4 separate regions of the Homo sapiens genome follow, and regions 1, 2 and 4 are each linked to region 3. Evidence: promoter capture Hi-C in 16 types of primary human blood cells and fetal thymus (Javierre and others, 2016). All regions are on one chromosome and are shown on one strand. Each heading gives the region's core, a stretch centred on a gene start or on the middle of the fragment in contact. The rest is flanking DNA. Distances are from core to core; before and after follow the strand shown. Region 1 holds the start of LOC105377102 (a long non-coding RNA gene). Region 2 overlaps SLMAP (sarcolemma associated protein). Region 3 holds the start of PDE12 (phosphodiesterase 12). Region 4 overlaps SLMAP (sarcolemma associated protein).

Evidence for each region. The method cuts DNA at HindIII sites, captures the fragments that hold promoters and counts their contacts. A CHiCAGO score of 5 or more calls a contact.
Region 1: a fragment that was not itself captured here is called in contact with the fragment with the promoter of PDE12 in region 3 in 2 of 17 cell types (M1 macrophages and endothelial precursors); the score reaches 5.8 in M1 macrophages.
Region 2: a contact is called between a fragment that was not itself captured here and the fragment with the promoter of PDE12 in region 3, in 2 of 17 cell types (endothelial precursors and megakaryocytes). The highest score is 7.3, in endothelial precursors.
Region 4: a fragment that was not itself captured here is called in contact with the fragment with the promoter of PDE12 in region 3 in 1 of 17 cell types (endothelial precursors); the score reaches 5.6 in endothelial precursors.

Annotation. Positions count from the first base shown.
Region 1 is chr3:57,268,433-57,272,116 of GRCh38, reverse strand. It overlaps APPL1 (adaptor protein, phosphotyrosine interacting with PH domain and leucine zipper 1), which reads right to left. Exons shown (of 22, transcript NM_012096.3): 21 at 3,630-3,684; 22 at 1-2,576. The coding sequence ends at 2,430. It overlaps ASB14 (ankyrin repeat and SOCS box containing 14), which reads left to right. Exons shown (of 11, transcript NM_001142733.3): 11 at 2,499-3,684. It overlaps LOC105377102 (a long non-coding RNA gene), which reads right to left and starts at 2,551. Exons shown (of 3, transcript NR_135535.1): 1 at 2,366-2,551. The HindIII fragment of the contact is 537 bases long and covers 1,794-2,330 here.
Region 2 is chr3:57,830,422-57,834,002 of GRCh38, reverse strand. It overlaps SLMAP (sarcolemma associated protein), which reads right to left. Exons shown (of 25, transcript NM_001377540.1): 3 at 2,473-2,620. Among named protein-coding and RNA genes, the nearest start is that of SLMAP, 76 kb to the right of the region's middle. RefSeq lists an enhancer at 1,806-2,307. The HindIII fragment of the contact is 659 bases long and covers 1,553-2,211 here.
Region 3 is chr3:57,554,812-57,558,343 of GRCh38, reverse strand. It overlaps PDE12 (phosphodiesterase 12), which reads right to left and starts at 2,070. Exons shown (of 3, transcript NM_177966.7): 1 at 657-2,070. The coding sequence starts at 1,964. It also overlaps a transcript of DNAH12 not described here. RefSeq lists enhancers at 1-240, 1,137-1,306, 1,797-2,576. The HindIII fragment of the contact is 2,707 bases long and covers 1,226-3,532 here.
Region 4 is chr3:57,847,798-57,851,281 of GRCh38, reverse strand. It overlaps SLMAP (sarcolemma associated protein), which reads right to left. Exons shown (of 25, transcript NM_001377540.1): 6 at 1,466-1,528. Among named protein-coding and RNA genes, the nearest start is that of SLMAP, 93 kb to the right of the region's middle. The HindIII fragment of the contact is 2,960 bases long and covers 254-3,213 here.

The DNA of each region.
Region 1 (3,684 bases), core at 813-3,312, 290 kb after region 3:
AACACCATTAAGTGTAAGTCTGAATGTGAGAAAAGATATCCCAAAATCGAATCCAGTTACCCTCAAAGCATCTCAGAACTAGAAGGGATTTCAAAGGAGGGTAACAATCAGCTTTACCACTAGGCAGAAACCCATGGGCAGCCTTTAAATAACAAAAAGAGCTTATTAAAACAGATACTTAAATCTCTGCAGTAATGGAATAGTTCATATAGTTCAACAGTAATGGAACAAAAGCTGAATCATCTAAAATTGTTAAACCCACTCATAACTTCTATTTAGCATTGGAATGCACTTCGATCTGACCTATGGAGATGATGGGTTTATTATTGTAGAAATTCCTGTGAACATGACTTAAAACGAACTACAGGTCTGTCCAGCATCCCTAAGTCTGCCAGTGCCTTAACTCTAGCCTACACTATGACCCAGGGTGCTGATAAAGGGCAGCACTTGCTACCATGCAAAGCACCAGCTTAGTAAAGCTGCCTCCTAATGATGAACACCTTCCTTGTAGAGTAACAGATTTCATCTGAACTAAGTGAGGTGACAATTTGTAGTATAAACAAAAGACTTAATGGAACAGAAAGCTCCAGTCTCCAAAAGGTCTTAAAAACAGGACTTGCCATGACTACTTAAATGCTGGCAACAGAATAAATTCCAACTTTAACAAAACAAAAGAACTGATACACTATTGTGAAAGCATTCCTTTTGGTAAGCACAAAATAAACTTTTTATCAAAAGTATTTCATAAATTTCTACTTTTTTACTGTATGTTTTGGTAACATAAAGCATCAGTAAATAAACATTACACCCATTTGGCACATGGATAGAAGGAATATCATGATCCTATATATCATTATCCTATTCCTACAGAAAACAATGTACATATACAGTGTGAAACAGCTGAGTTATATTTTGAGACCTAAAACAGATGCCATTTCTAATGCAGAACTAAGAAGAAAAAACTGTATATCAAAGAAAAAAAAAGGCTTTTTCCCTTGTAAAATTATTAAAGTCTTAGTGGCTAACCTCTTGAAAAATTTGTAAATGTGTGACTATGTAAAGTATTTTACCCACTATATTAACTTTGTATATATATACTTTTTCATGTGAAACACATGAAAACATAATTTCTATTAGCAGTGTTAAAAGTGATTACAGAAAAAAAATTAAGGTTTAACATAAACAATAGGCAGTAGAGAAATGTTATTTTAACCTTGGCACCAGGTTAAATCCTTCCTTGGTCAACTTCTCCTATACTCTACTAGGCATTCAATTCATTTTCAATCTTTCACAAAATTGGACCTTTTACTCATTTGAAGAGTAGACATATTTACAATAATTAGTGCAAATTATTCTATTATCATACATTAGTTATTTGCCTTTGTGGATATAAAGTGGTGATTCAGTACTTTATCAAAACATGGCATTATGAAAATACTGGGAATATATCAGTCTGAAATTTAAAAGATTACATTTTCTAAACTAAACTCTGGGAATTTTTACTTTAAGCATGAAACATAATTGTTATAGAACTTCTTTTGAAATGTCACTTGACTTTCAATAAAAACTATTTCACACAATGCAGAAAATACAATGTATCATTCCATAGCAGTATCTTTACTTGTCAATCCTAATCTAAAATGTATTGAACAAAAATCTTTTAATAAATTCCAATATCTTATTTTTAACCACTACTGCTCTGCAGCAGTAATTGAAGTCCCAACCTGAGAACTAAGAATGTGATAATAAAATGCCAAGGGCTCTATCAATCTTGAACTGAAGACACTTAAGCTTCTTTCCTACTGGCATCAAGTGCAGTACATTAGAGAAATGTGAGCAATCCCAGAAAGTACCCTGAGATCAACAGTACCACCTGCCACAATTTGAAACCTTAACTGTAAAATCTCTGTTCTAATTATTTTATAAAAGTTCTATTGCACATTTAATATTGTTAAAATATTTGCAAACTTGTAGAATTCTCTGTATAAAGGGCTTTAAACTTATTCAGCTAAATGCTTCCTCATCACCAGCAAAATGTTCCTAATGAAAGAAAAGCATATCCATGAATGTCTAAGCCTGAAGAATAAATGATTTCTTATGGACACAGCCAATTACAATGCAAGAATTAAAAGTTCACAATTTGACGGAAAAAATTCTTGAGCAAATGTAATTCCTCAGCAGTCTGCTTCAGGGAGATGAGCAGGTTTCCTTTAGATGTTAATACATAGTACATTATGTTTAAGGGGGAAAAAAGATCAATGCAAACCTAAGTCATCAAGTTCAATCTTTTTTTTAAAATGTAGCTACAACAAATAAGCAAATATAAAGCTTAATCTCCTCCTTGATATTTCAACATAGTTGTTACCTTCTGCCATTTCACCATAGAAACTGTCAAATTCCAAGGGGGAATATCTACCAAAAGTATAAGCTTATGCTTCTGATTCTCTCTTCTTTCCTCCTTCTCCCAAATCACTCTCTTCTGACTGGCTACTGCTAAGGACAACAAACTGCCCCTCACTACTGGCTTGGTTTGGTCTACTGGAAGCAGCTATCAACCGACTTTGTTCTTCCAAGTCCTAGTGGAAAAGACAAAAAAGAAACTAAGTTACTTGTCTGCAGTCAAATGGCAAATTATGCAGTTAAGATACATTCTTGAGAGCCACTTCTTCTGTCATAAATATGTATGCATACTTCTGACAACTTGATAAAAAGAAAAGCTACACCCAAACAATACAACACCAAAATGAATTTTGGCACCATCCTATAAAAGCCAGCATTCAAACTAAAATCTAATATTTTATCTTTCTTTTTTTATGACCAACAACCAAATAAAGCCCATCATCAATCATCTCTCACTATATATTATAGTAAAACCCTCGAAAGGGATCACCCCCACACTCCTTTCCCTTCCCCTCTCCAGCCCTTTTCTCCATCCCTGTCCAATTCATCTTTGCTAAATCAGGTGTCACCTTCCCTCAGCCTCGCCTATCAAGAAAGCCTCACTTCAATGTCATCTTTGCCACTTCCCTCTTCTTTGTCCAGAGAGCCAGCCCACAGCCAATGCTTATTGATCTGTTCTAAGCATCCCAGCTGTCTCCTCTTTTCTATTCCTACTGTCAATCTACAACCCATAACACGCTCTTACAATTTCATGGATCATTTAATGCATTCTTCAAGTTTTGCTCTGAAATTTGTCTTTTAAAATTATTCTGTTGGATGGACAATGATTTGACACTCCTGGCAATATTAAAAATATACATTTCATTATATATTTCATATAACATATATATTTATTTATTTCCCCCCCATAGAAGGCAAAATGGCTTTCAGCAATGGCAGTTAAGTCTACACAGCCTCTCAACTGCTTTGACAGAGACAACCTCCTCTGAAATATTAAAGTTCTGGTATATTTTTGAAACAGTCATATTACATGTCAACGTAACTATAATGTAAACATCATATCAAAAAACAGATGTGACCCTTTTCTGCTATGGTATGAATCATCTGTTTATGAAGTGGCTGAACAAGCAGAAACAGCCCTTCATTTGGAAATTCAAATCTGAAAGTCATAGTGCTGAATTAAGTCTTCACAAACAACACATAAAGATCCAGACATTAGGACTGTATACCTTTTCAATCTGTTTTTGTTTATTGAGTTCTTTCTGTTGCTTCTCTTTTACTCTC
Region 2 (3,581 bases), core at 633-3,132, 280 kb before region 3:
GAGCATTCTCCAAGTGATACAAAAGTTATCACAGCACTGTTTAGCATAGGATAAAAATCAATACTTTTTTTCTGGTATGTCCTTAAACAGGTAGTACTCAACTGGTGACACAGCTGTATCCCAAGAGCCCGTGCTTAACATAAGTCAACTTTTTGAAGCCAGTAAGTACCAAAAGAAACAACATTTTAAATGTTGCAAGTTTTTTTTTTTTTAAATCTAATCTCCTTAAAGTTAGCATAAAAGATAAATCAAATTTCACAGAAGACTGTAAAAATCTAATGTTACTGGCCAGGCGTGATGGCTTAGCCTGTAATCCCAGCACTTTGGGAGGCTGAGATGGGCAGATCACGAGGTCAAGAGAACGAGACCATCCTGGCCAACATGGTGAAACCCCGTCTCTACTAGAAATACAAAAATTAGCTGGGCATGGTGGCATGCACCTGTAGTCCCAGCTACTCGAGAGGCTGAGGCAGGAGAATCACTTGAGCCCGGGAGACAGGTTGCAGTGACTGGAGATGGTGCCACTGCACTCCAGCCTGGCAACAGAGTGAGACTCCGTCTCAAAAAAAAAAAACTAATGTTACTAAAATAAGATTATACTAAGAGGAACCTTGAATCTCAGGGTCATCTTCTTAGCTTTCTATAGCATTTTCTAAAGAGTATCCCTCACAGATAGACCCTCACAGATAGATGGGAAAAAACAGTGGAAAGGAGTTTGGAAAGAGTTGCATTCTATAATGGCCACCTCCTTGGAAATCTGCATATATGTTAGCATATTAAAAGCTCCAAGAAGTCCTGCTTATCTTACCTAAGTATTCTCTAAATGTATTTCATTACCTCATCCTTTTTGTCAATCAACACCTAATAATTCCCTTTAGGAAATGCAAGCCAAGAAGACAGACATTCCTTGGAGAGAAAGACAATGTAATCAAATTCTCTTTTTCTCTATGGGTTACTCACAGTTGGGGTTCCATTTAATGAGCTCGGTTTACTGTTTGCTGAATGACTTGTAGGTGTGATATGGCAACAGCAGATATAGGAGTGTCTAATGCAGCTGTTCCCAGTATGGTCATATATAAGTTGAATTCTCTTAGTAAGAAGTGTCAATATTCTTTACCAAAATACAAACCTTTCTTTTTTGGTTTACAATTGTAAATGGAAATTCCTAAGATGTTGGCCCTGCCCAAATTCAAATATCAAAACCTAACTTTCTGAGGAGGCCAAAAAAACCCATTAAAAATAATACTGCTGTTGCAATACCAGTGAAAGTATATGCATAAATATGCATATGAACACACACACACCAGCATCATCAGCATTATCATCATCACCACCATCACCATCTCTACTATGCAAAATTCTGACCAGTATCACCAGATCAGAGTATGTTCAGACAAATGAAAGGAGAAACTTGCCAAATGGTTGCACTATCCATATTAAACTAATGAAGTGGAACTAAACACTTATGGTTTTTATCCATTTAGTTTTATGATTTAGCTATATAATTTCATGGTCATAAAGAAGACCGTGAACTAGGTAGAGGCAGGAAGCTTCTGAATTGTAAAAACAAAGATCAATCTACATTTATTTAGCTAAAGAACTTTCAAAAATTGTGAGACATTAAATTTTATTTTATACTTGTGATAGCTACTATTAGCTGCCTACCTCTACTACCTTTCCATCTTCTTTCTTGCTAAGAGAGCTCTAATTTTGTTTGGGGTAACAATGTACACACAACCTGAAGGAATAAATCAAAACTGATCTATGTCAATCATAGATCTTCTTGCTCCCTTTCACGAGATTAAGTAACTTCACCAGACTTCTTTGTAGCTGCAGGTAACTATGTATGCGATCTACCCATGTGGCCAGTGAGACCTAAGGAGAAATCTGCTGGGAGGATTCTGCAAAAGATTGTTCTTTCAACATAAGAAGAGAGCCACACAAGAAGGCATTTTATCCCCGCCTCATCCTTTTTGCCTAGGATACTGGTGTGAGGAAAATGATGCCTGGGGCTTGCAGCCATCATCTTATGACCATGAAGCAACAACCAAAAGCATGAGAAACTAAAATGTTTAAGACAGTAGAACAGGAAGACAGTAAGACCCTGGATCCCTGATGATCTCATTGAGTCAACTGAACAAATGAACCTATCTGCCTCCAGATCTCTCATTAAGTCTCATCATCAATAATAAATATCCTGTGATTTAAGCTTGTCTTGGTGGGGTATGCTGTCATTGCAGCTGACTGGTCCCTGACTGTGATGAAGAATATAAACTACTAAATAACACTTCAGAATTTAAAATTTTAGAAGAGCAATACGGAAAGTATGAGACTTTTAACTTTTCACTGTATATAATGCTGTATTTAAATCGCTTTCACAAGCATGTAATGTTTCATAATGTCAAGTAAGATAATAAAAAATTAAATAACCTTTAAAAGACAAGTAATAAAAAAAGTGATCCATACCCGTACCTTTCCGTGTATTCTCTGTCACGTCTACTCCAAACTGGATAATGTCACCGGAAAGAATTTCACATGGTGGACTTTCTTCAGAGCCTCGACTCAATCTCTGGCTATTTATAAAAGTACCATTACTACTTTTAGTGTCTTGAAGATAAAACTGCAAAAAAAAACAAAAACAAAAAAGGGCCAAATATTAATAGTAATAATTCCAAATGTACTTTTTAAAAAAATGCTTCCAGCTTTGCCAACTATTGCAAGTGAATTTTTCCCCTATTAATTCAAACCACTCATTTCAGCTAAGGTTCTCCTTTAATATATATGAAATTAGAATCTGAAAACTAGGTGATTTAAAATTCAGCTACATAAAACGGTACAACCTCTTTGGAAAAAGAGTTTGTCAGGTCCTCAAAATGTTAAACATAAAGTTAGTATACAACTCAGCAATTCCACTCCTAGGTATACATCCAAGAGAACTAAAAACATGTTCTCATAAAAACTTCTACACAAATGTTGGCATTATTCATAATAGCCAAAAAGGGAAAATAATCCAACTATCCATCAACTGATAAATGAATAAACAAATGTGGTAGACATTCATATAACTGAATATTATTTGGCAATAAAGGGGTGAAGTATTGATAACATGCTATAACATGAATGAACGTTTAAAACATTATGTGAAGTAAAAGAAGTCAGTCACAAAAGACTGATGTATTATAATGATTCATTTTATATGAAACATCCAGAATAGGCAAAGCTATACAGACAAAAAGTACATGAGTGCTTACAAAAGGCTGAAGTGGCAGGTAGGAATGGGATGGGTACAAGGTTTCTTTTTGAGATGATGAAAATATTCTAAAATTAGTGGTGATGGTTGTCCAAATTTGCTTCTCATCACTTGGGTAACCCTCCCTCTTTAAAAACAGAAAGGATAGCAGGAGGCACAAGAAGCCTACCTATTTATCACTTACAAATCCTTAAAAATTTCAGCACAACTGGGATCACACACAATAGACTTACTAGGAAGAGAACCACCAGTAAAAAAAGACGTACCTTTCTTTTTCGATTTTTCTACACTCTTCAGCCCTACTTATTTTAGTAACACATTTTCGCTGAAT
Region 3 (3,532 bases), core at 821-3,320:
ACCTGCAAAAAGATGCTTTTCTAGCCAGTTTCGTACTGGCAGTCACTGACAATACCATCCACCTCATGGGCTGTTGTGTGGAGTCAATTAAATGATCTTATAAGGTGCATGAAACACCTTAGGTACTTAAAAAATGGTAGCTGCTCTTCTTATTATGAACAAAATCAATTACTTAAAAACTTTAACACAAGAATGACATCTATAAAATGGGAATAGGGGACTTACTGTGAAGATTCAATGAGCCTATGATTTAAAAAAAACTAGTTTATATTTATGGAGCACTTCAAAACACACCACGCTCTTAAATTTTAAGTACTTTAAAATGTGCCAGAACAGTGCTTGGCAAGTAGTAAAAAACATTAGCTACTATTGTTCTTGCATTTAGCGTGTGTCCCTCTCGCTAGATTGTAAGCACTGTAAAAGTCCCTGCTAGTCTTGTTCAAGGCAACCTGCAGTATGGCAGGCACACCAGAGGTGTTCAAAAAATATCTGCTGAATGAATGAAGAGTAAACTTTGTGCTGAAGATACAAGGGCAAACACACCTTTCAACAATATCTGGATACTTTCATCGCACTTTTAACCCCCACCTCATTCCTCGCCTTCCTGGCCCCTAAAAGTGGGACAGTATGTGAAGAGACGGGCGGAACTACTTTACCTGAAGAACAGAAGATCTCTGGAGCACCTTCTCCTGCGCTGATGGGTACAAAACTAGTTTCTCCAGCAGTTCTTTGTGAAGTGGGTCGGACTCGAGGGCTTCGTAGAATGAAATGTCATGCTGGCTAAGAAGGCTGAACTTAGACTTTCGGTAGAAAGTGGCCAGGCCTTCGTGCTGCTTGATTCGAAACACCCCCTCGAGCCCGAAGGCCTCTAGGGCGGGTACCAAGCTGTCAGAAAACACTGCGCGGTCAACCTCCTGCAAACAGATGACATCGGCGTTGTAGCCGGTGAGTTCCTTCTGGATAAGGTTCTGGCGGTAGTCGAGCTCCAGGGCGTAGGGGGCACAGTATGGGTACAGAACCGTTCGCGAGAACTCAGTCTGCGCGTACGTGTCTGCCAGGATGTTGTAAGAGACAGTGCGGATGAGAGCGTCCTCAGTCACCTTCTTCGTGTAGAGATGCCGGTGGTCAAAAGTGCAGGTGCCAGGCCCAGCCTCTACCACACACACACTTTCCAACTCCCGGCTGTGCCCAAAGCGCTGCCCATCGCCTGGGGTGCAGTGAAGCTTGAGCCTTAGCCCGATGTCGGCATTGGACGGGGTGTAGACACGCTCCTCCACATCAGTCTCAGTCCAAGAAGAAGAAGGTGAGGAGGGAGACAATGACGAGGGGACACCGACCTCGGGCTCCGCCGCTCCGGGCTTGGCTTCCTTATACCAGCGGAAAAGGGAGCTGGCGGGATCCCCAAATTCGAGGCTGAGTTTGGGGCACACAGGGAACCCGGCCATGATGTAGCGCGGCAACTGCAGTTCGGTGAAGGCGGGCGGGTTGCGCTCCACCTTGTACTTAACATCGCCGATCTGCAGCACCGCGCCGTCTTGCCAGGCATCCACGTTGAGCACGTCCTCAGCCACTGCCTCTTCCCGGTAGTACAGCTTCACCACGGGCTCGCAGAACACAGCCGGCTCAGGCCCCGGCCCTGAACAGGCCGCACCGCCGCTAGCATTCGGCCGGCTCTTCCTGCTCTTCTTGGCGGCGGCCGCCTTAGCGTGACCCTTTAGGGCATTGGTAGCGATGCGGCTGAGGACTCGACCCAGCGGCTCGCTCTGGTCGCGCTGCATGTTCTTGTGGCTACCATCAGCCAAAGCGAATGACAGGCTCAGCTTGGGTTCCGAAGGTACGCAGCGCACTACAGCGCGCTCCATCGCTCCCGCCGCTGTCTGGCTCCCCGCTTCAGCCCGGCTCAGCTTCTCCACCGCCGTCCGGATCACCCGAAGCGCGGCGCGGGCGCCTGGGAGCCTCCACATGAACCTGGTGGCCTAGCGGTCGACAAGACCCGCGGCCGATCAGCGGCCTACTGTCAGGTGGAGCTGAGGAGCCGAGGCCGCCGGCTTTGACTCATTCAGATCTCGCGACTTCCGGCTAGCGAAGAGAGGGAATGAAGTGCTTCCGACTCGCACTTTCGCCTAGCGCGTGGGCACGCATGTCTGTAATACTCTGAAGATTAATTTTTACCTACACGATAGGTCAGAATTATAGGGAAGTGAAGAAAATATAAAGGTGTCAGAGGAAAATACTAGATTCCACGGTTTTGTCGAAAGTGCATGCTGGTGACGGGAGGGCATGCCCTCCAAGCCGGAAGTGGATAGGGTGGTGTCACGTGTTCCGCTTCGTTGGAGGAGGTGGACACCTGTCTTGGAATCTTGGCTGACCAGCTCTCCTCCCTGCGCCCGGGACTGGACTGCGCTAGGACGTGGAGGCCTCCACCCGGATTGCGAGCTTTACTCGCAGTGTGGAAGGTGTTGCCCATTTCATCTCCACAGCTTTGCCGACCCTGATCGCTCGTTTCGGTGGCCTGGTGGGTTCACCCCAGGCTGAGCCAGCGCCTACGCACCTCTGAGCAGAGCCTTTGTGGTAGTTAACAACGAACGATATACAATAACTCCGTTTAGTGAGCGCAGACTATGCGAGAAACGCTACACACACTATCTTATTTAAGCCTCATAGTTCTTATGAGGTAGGTCTCTTTATCCATCGCTTTACAGATGCAGAGTCCCGAGATATTACCTGCTCAGGGTCACACAACTATTAATTGGCAGAAAGAAATAGTACTGACAAACTGCGGAAGGCTGTTTGTTATTTTTTATTAGAGACAGGTTGTCACTTTGACGCCCAAGCTGGAGTGCAGTGGCCTGATCATAGCTCACTGCCCCCTCGAACTCCAGGGCTCGTGCGATCCTCCCGCCTAACCCTCTCAAGTACAAACAGGCAAGAGCCACCCAGTGTTTATTTTTAGTTAGTAAATAGGAAGACTCTATTTAGTTACTACATTTAACAAATAAAATTACAGGATCTCAGTTAAATTCAATTTCAGATAAGGAATAATAATGGGGCATATATTAAGAAATAGTTGTTTATCTGTTTATTTTATTTTTTTATTTTTTAGGTAGGGCCTTGCTCTTTCACCCAAGCTGGAGTGCAGCTGTGCGATCTTGGCTTACTGCAACTTCGGCTTCCAGAGTTCAAGCGATTCTCGTGCCTCAGCCTCCCAAGTAGCTGGGACTACAGGCACACACCACCACGCCCAGCTAATTTTTGTATTTTAGTAGAGAAGGGCTTCACCATGTTTCCTGGGCTGGTCGCGAACTCCTGGCCTCAAGCAAGCCCCCCGCCTTACCCTCCCAAAATTCTGGGATAACAAGTGAAAACCACCTCCCCTGGCCTAAGGAATCGTGCACTTTATTGCTATTTCTTTTAAAGGTCTTAAAGACGCCGGGCCCAGTGGCTCACGTCTGTAATCCCAGCACTTTGGGAGGCTGAGGCGGGTGGATCGCCTAAGGTCAGGAGTTCGAGACCAGCCTGGCCAACATAGTGA
Region 4 (3,484 bases), core at 484-2,983, 290 kb before region 3:
ATCTGCTCTACACCAAGAAATTATTCTGTGAATCCAGCAGCACAGCACAGTAGTTACACAAAGCAGAAAATCTGAGGTCTGGCTGTCCAGGTTCAAATCCCAGCTCTACCATATACTTGATATGTGATACTGTATAAATTATTAAATCTTCCTGCCTCTCAGTTACTCTATCTGTAAAAATAGGAATAAAATATGCACCTTGTAAGACTGTTGTGAGAATTAAATAATATAGGTAAAGTGCTAGAATGAAGCTTGGCATATAATAAGTGCTATATAATTACTTGCTATTAATATTATTAAGCAATCAAAATCTCTCCCAGTTATTTTTTATTTAAAAGTCATCTATGGGCCGGGCGCCATGGCTCATGCCTGTAATCCCAACACTTTGGGAGGCTGAAGTGGGTGTATTGCCTGAGCTCAGGAGTTTGAGACCACCCTGGGCAACATGGTAAAACCCTGTCTCTACTAAAATACAAAAAATTAGCCAGCTGTGGGTGGTGGATGCCTGTAGTCCCAGCCACTCAGGAGGCTGAGGCAGGAGAATCGCTTGGGCCCAGGAGGCAGAGGTTGTAGTGAGCTGAGATTGTACCACTGCACTCCAGCTTGGGCTACAGAGTGAGACTCCATCTCAAAAATAAAACAGAATAAAATAAAATAAAACAAAACAAAAGTCATCTATGGATAAAGAATTGTTTTGGGGCTCGGCATGGCGGCTCACACCTATAATCCCAGCACTTTGGGAGGTTGAGGCAGGAAAAAGACTTGAGCCCAGGAGTTCGAGGCTGTAGTGAGTTCTGATCATGCCACTGCACTTCAGCCTGAGAGACAGAGCGAGACCCTGTCTCCAAAAAAATTTGAAAACAGATTTTTAAAAACTGTTTTGGAACCTCCTCATACTTGAACAAAAAAATTCCTCTTGTACAAAGGCTTTTCTCTAGATTTAATGTTGACTCTTTTATCTTTCTTCATAAGATCTACTTTTAATCCTTTGTTCTTTTTTGAAAAGACAGTATTTCTTTTCTATTTGCATCCAGCCATTTTTTTATCCTATATTTGTGAATTTGCAAAATAAAATATAAGTTGTTTAATTCTGCCCTTCTTTTCTTCAGACAGGGTCTTGCTCTGTTGCCTAGGATGGAGTGCAGTGGTGCCATCAAAGTTCACTGCAGCCTCGACCCCCTGGGCTCAAGTAATCCTCTCACCTCCACCTCCCAAGTAGCTGGGACTACAGATGCACGCCATCACACCTGGTTAATTAAAAAAATTTTTTTAAATTAAAGGGGTCTCACTTTATTGCCCAGGTTGGTCTCAAACTCTTGGCCTCAAAGAATCCTTCTGCCTAGGCCTCCCAAAGTCCTGGGATTACAGGCATTAGCCACCATGCCTGGCCCTAATTCTGCTTTTAAGAACTTTTAAAAGTTTAAAAGAAATTCTGCTTTTAAGAAGTCTCAAGATGTACTTTTACCTGTAGATACTGAGAAAGCTGGAATAGTTCCTGAGAGTACATACTTGGAGTGTTAGCAGCAACCTAGAAACAAATGACACAGTATCAACAGAAAACACTTCATAAAGAACATTAAAGACAAACCAATTTCTTGAAATGTCTACTTACTTAAATATGCAAAATAACTGTTATTAAAATCACAAATTTATAGCACAAAGGCAATATAGCCTTTTAAATTTTTTTCTTTTCTGACGGAAATATAGCCGTTTCTTAATCCAGAAATAAAACCTCCTAATCAACAGATCCACATATTTTCCCTTTAAAATTCATCATTAAATACTTCTTTAATATTTTAACAAGCCTCATTCATTTAGAAGTAGCCATCTTCAAAATGGTATTTTTATGTGGTATAGGTAGGGCAGGGGCATGAAATACAACACTTTGTCCAGTGGCCTGAGGCAATGTTTCTTGAAATCCATAGGTAGGTTTTAAGAAAAAAGATGGGAAGTAATGGTGTTTAAACACTGTAAGTCATAGTCAAACTATTTAGAACTCAAGAGTATTATAAGGAATATCTTCTATAAGGGTTTTTTCAAGGCTGTAGAATATAGAACCATGGCATTATTAAAAAGAAAAACAAACAAAAAAGGGCCGGGCGCAGTGGCTCATGCCTGTAATCCCAGCACTTTGGAAGGCCGAGGGGGATGGATCACCTGAGGCCAGGAGTTCGAGAGACCAGCCTGGCCAACATGGTGAAACCCCGTGTCACGCTACTGCACTTCAGCCTGGACGACAGAGCGAAACTCCATCTCAAAAAAAAAAGAAGAAGGGCCAGGTACGGTGGCTCACGCCTGTAATCCCAGCACTTTGGGAGGCCGAGGCAGCCAGATCACCTGACGTTGGGAGTTCAAGACCAGCCTGACCGACATGGAGAAACCCCGTCTCTACTAAAAACGTAAAATTAGCAGGGCATGGTGGCACATGCCTGTAATCCCAGCTACTTGGGAGGCCAGGGCAGAAGAATCGCTGGAACCTCGAAGGCGGAGGTTGCAGTAAACTGAGATTGCACCATTGCACTCCAGCCTGGGCAACATGAGTGAAACTGTCTCAAAAAAAAAAAAAAAAAAAGGAGTAGGAGGAGGAAGAAAGAAGAAGGAAGGAAGAGGAAAAAGAAGAAGGAAGGAGGAGGAGGAAGAAAAGGAAGAGGAAGAAGAAGAAAAAGAAGAGGGGGAGGAGGAAGGAGGAAGAGGAGGGAGCAGGAAGAGGAAGAAAAAGGAGAAGGAGGGAGGAAAAAGGGAAGGAAGAAGGAGAAAGAAGGAAGAAGAAGAAAGAAGAAGGAAGTAGGAGGAGGGAGGACGAAGAAAAAAACGAGTAAGAAGAAAGAAGGAAGAAGGACGAAGAAGAAAAAAGAAGGAAGAAGAAAGAAGGAAGAAAGAAGAATAAGAAGGAAAAAGAAAGAAGGCAGAAGGAGGAAGAAAGAAGAAAGTAAAAGGAAGAAACAGGAGGAGGAGAAGGGGGAGAAGAAGGGAGAGAAGGAGGAGGAGAAAGAGGAGGAGAAGATGGAGTAAGAGGAGGAGGAGGAGGAGAAGAAGGAGAAAAAACCAAGAAGGAGGAAAAGGAGGAAAGAAGAAAGAAAAGAAGAGGAGGAGGAGGAGGAGGAGCAGGAGCAGGAGGAGAAGAAGAAGGAAGAAGGACTACTGGGTTGCTGTAATATTCACCCCTATGTGTCAGCTTATTAATGATGTTATAGCACCAGTCCTTATTAAGCTTGGAAAGTATACTTTAATTAATATGCTGACGAGACAGCAGAGAGTTGGCATTATTTTTTAAATTTAGTTCTAAATTAGCAGGACCATTATTTACTTCTGAATAATCTTTGGTATTGCAGAAGTTGATGATTAACCACTTTTACTTTTAAAAAAGGAGTCTAACAGAGAACTTCAGTTTTAAGCAGGCTTTCATTCTTCATTCAAATGGAAGAAAAACATAAAATATTTTTTCCACTAGTTTAGTTACTGCACTAAGAAAACTAGACTCTCA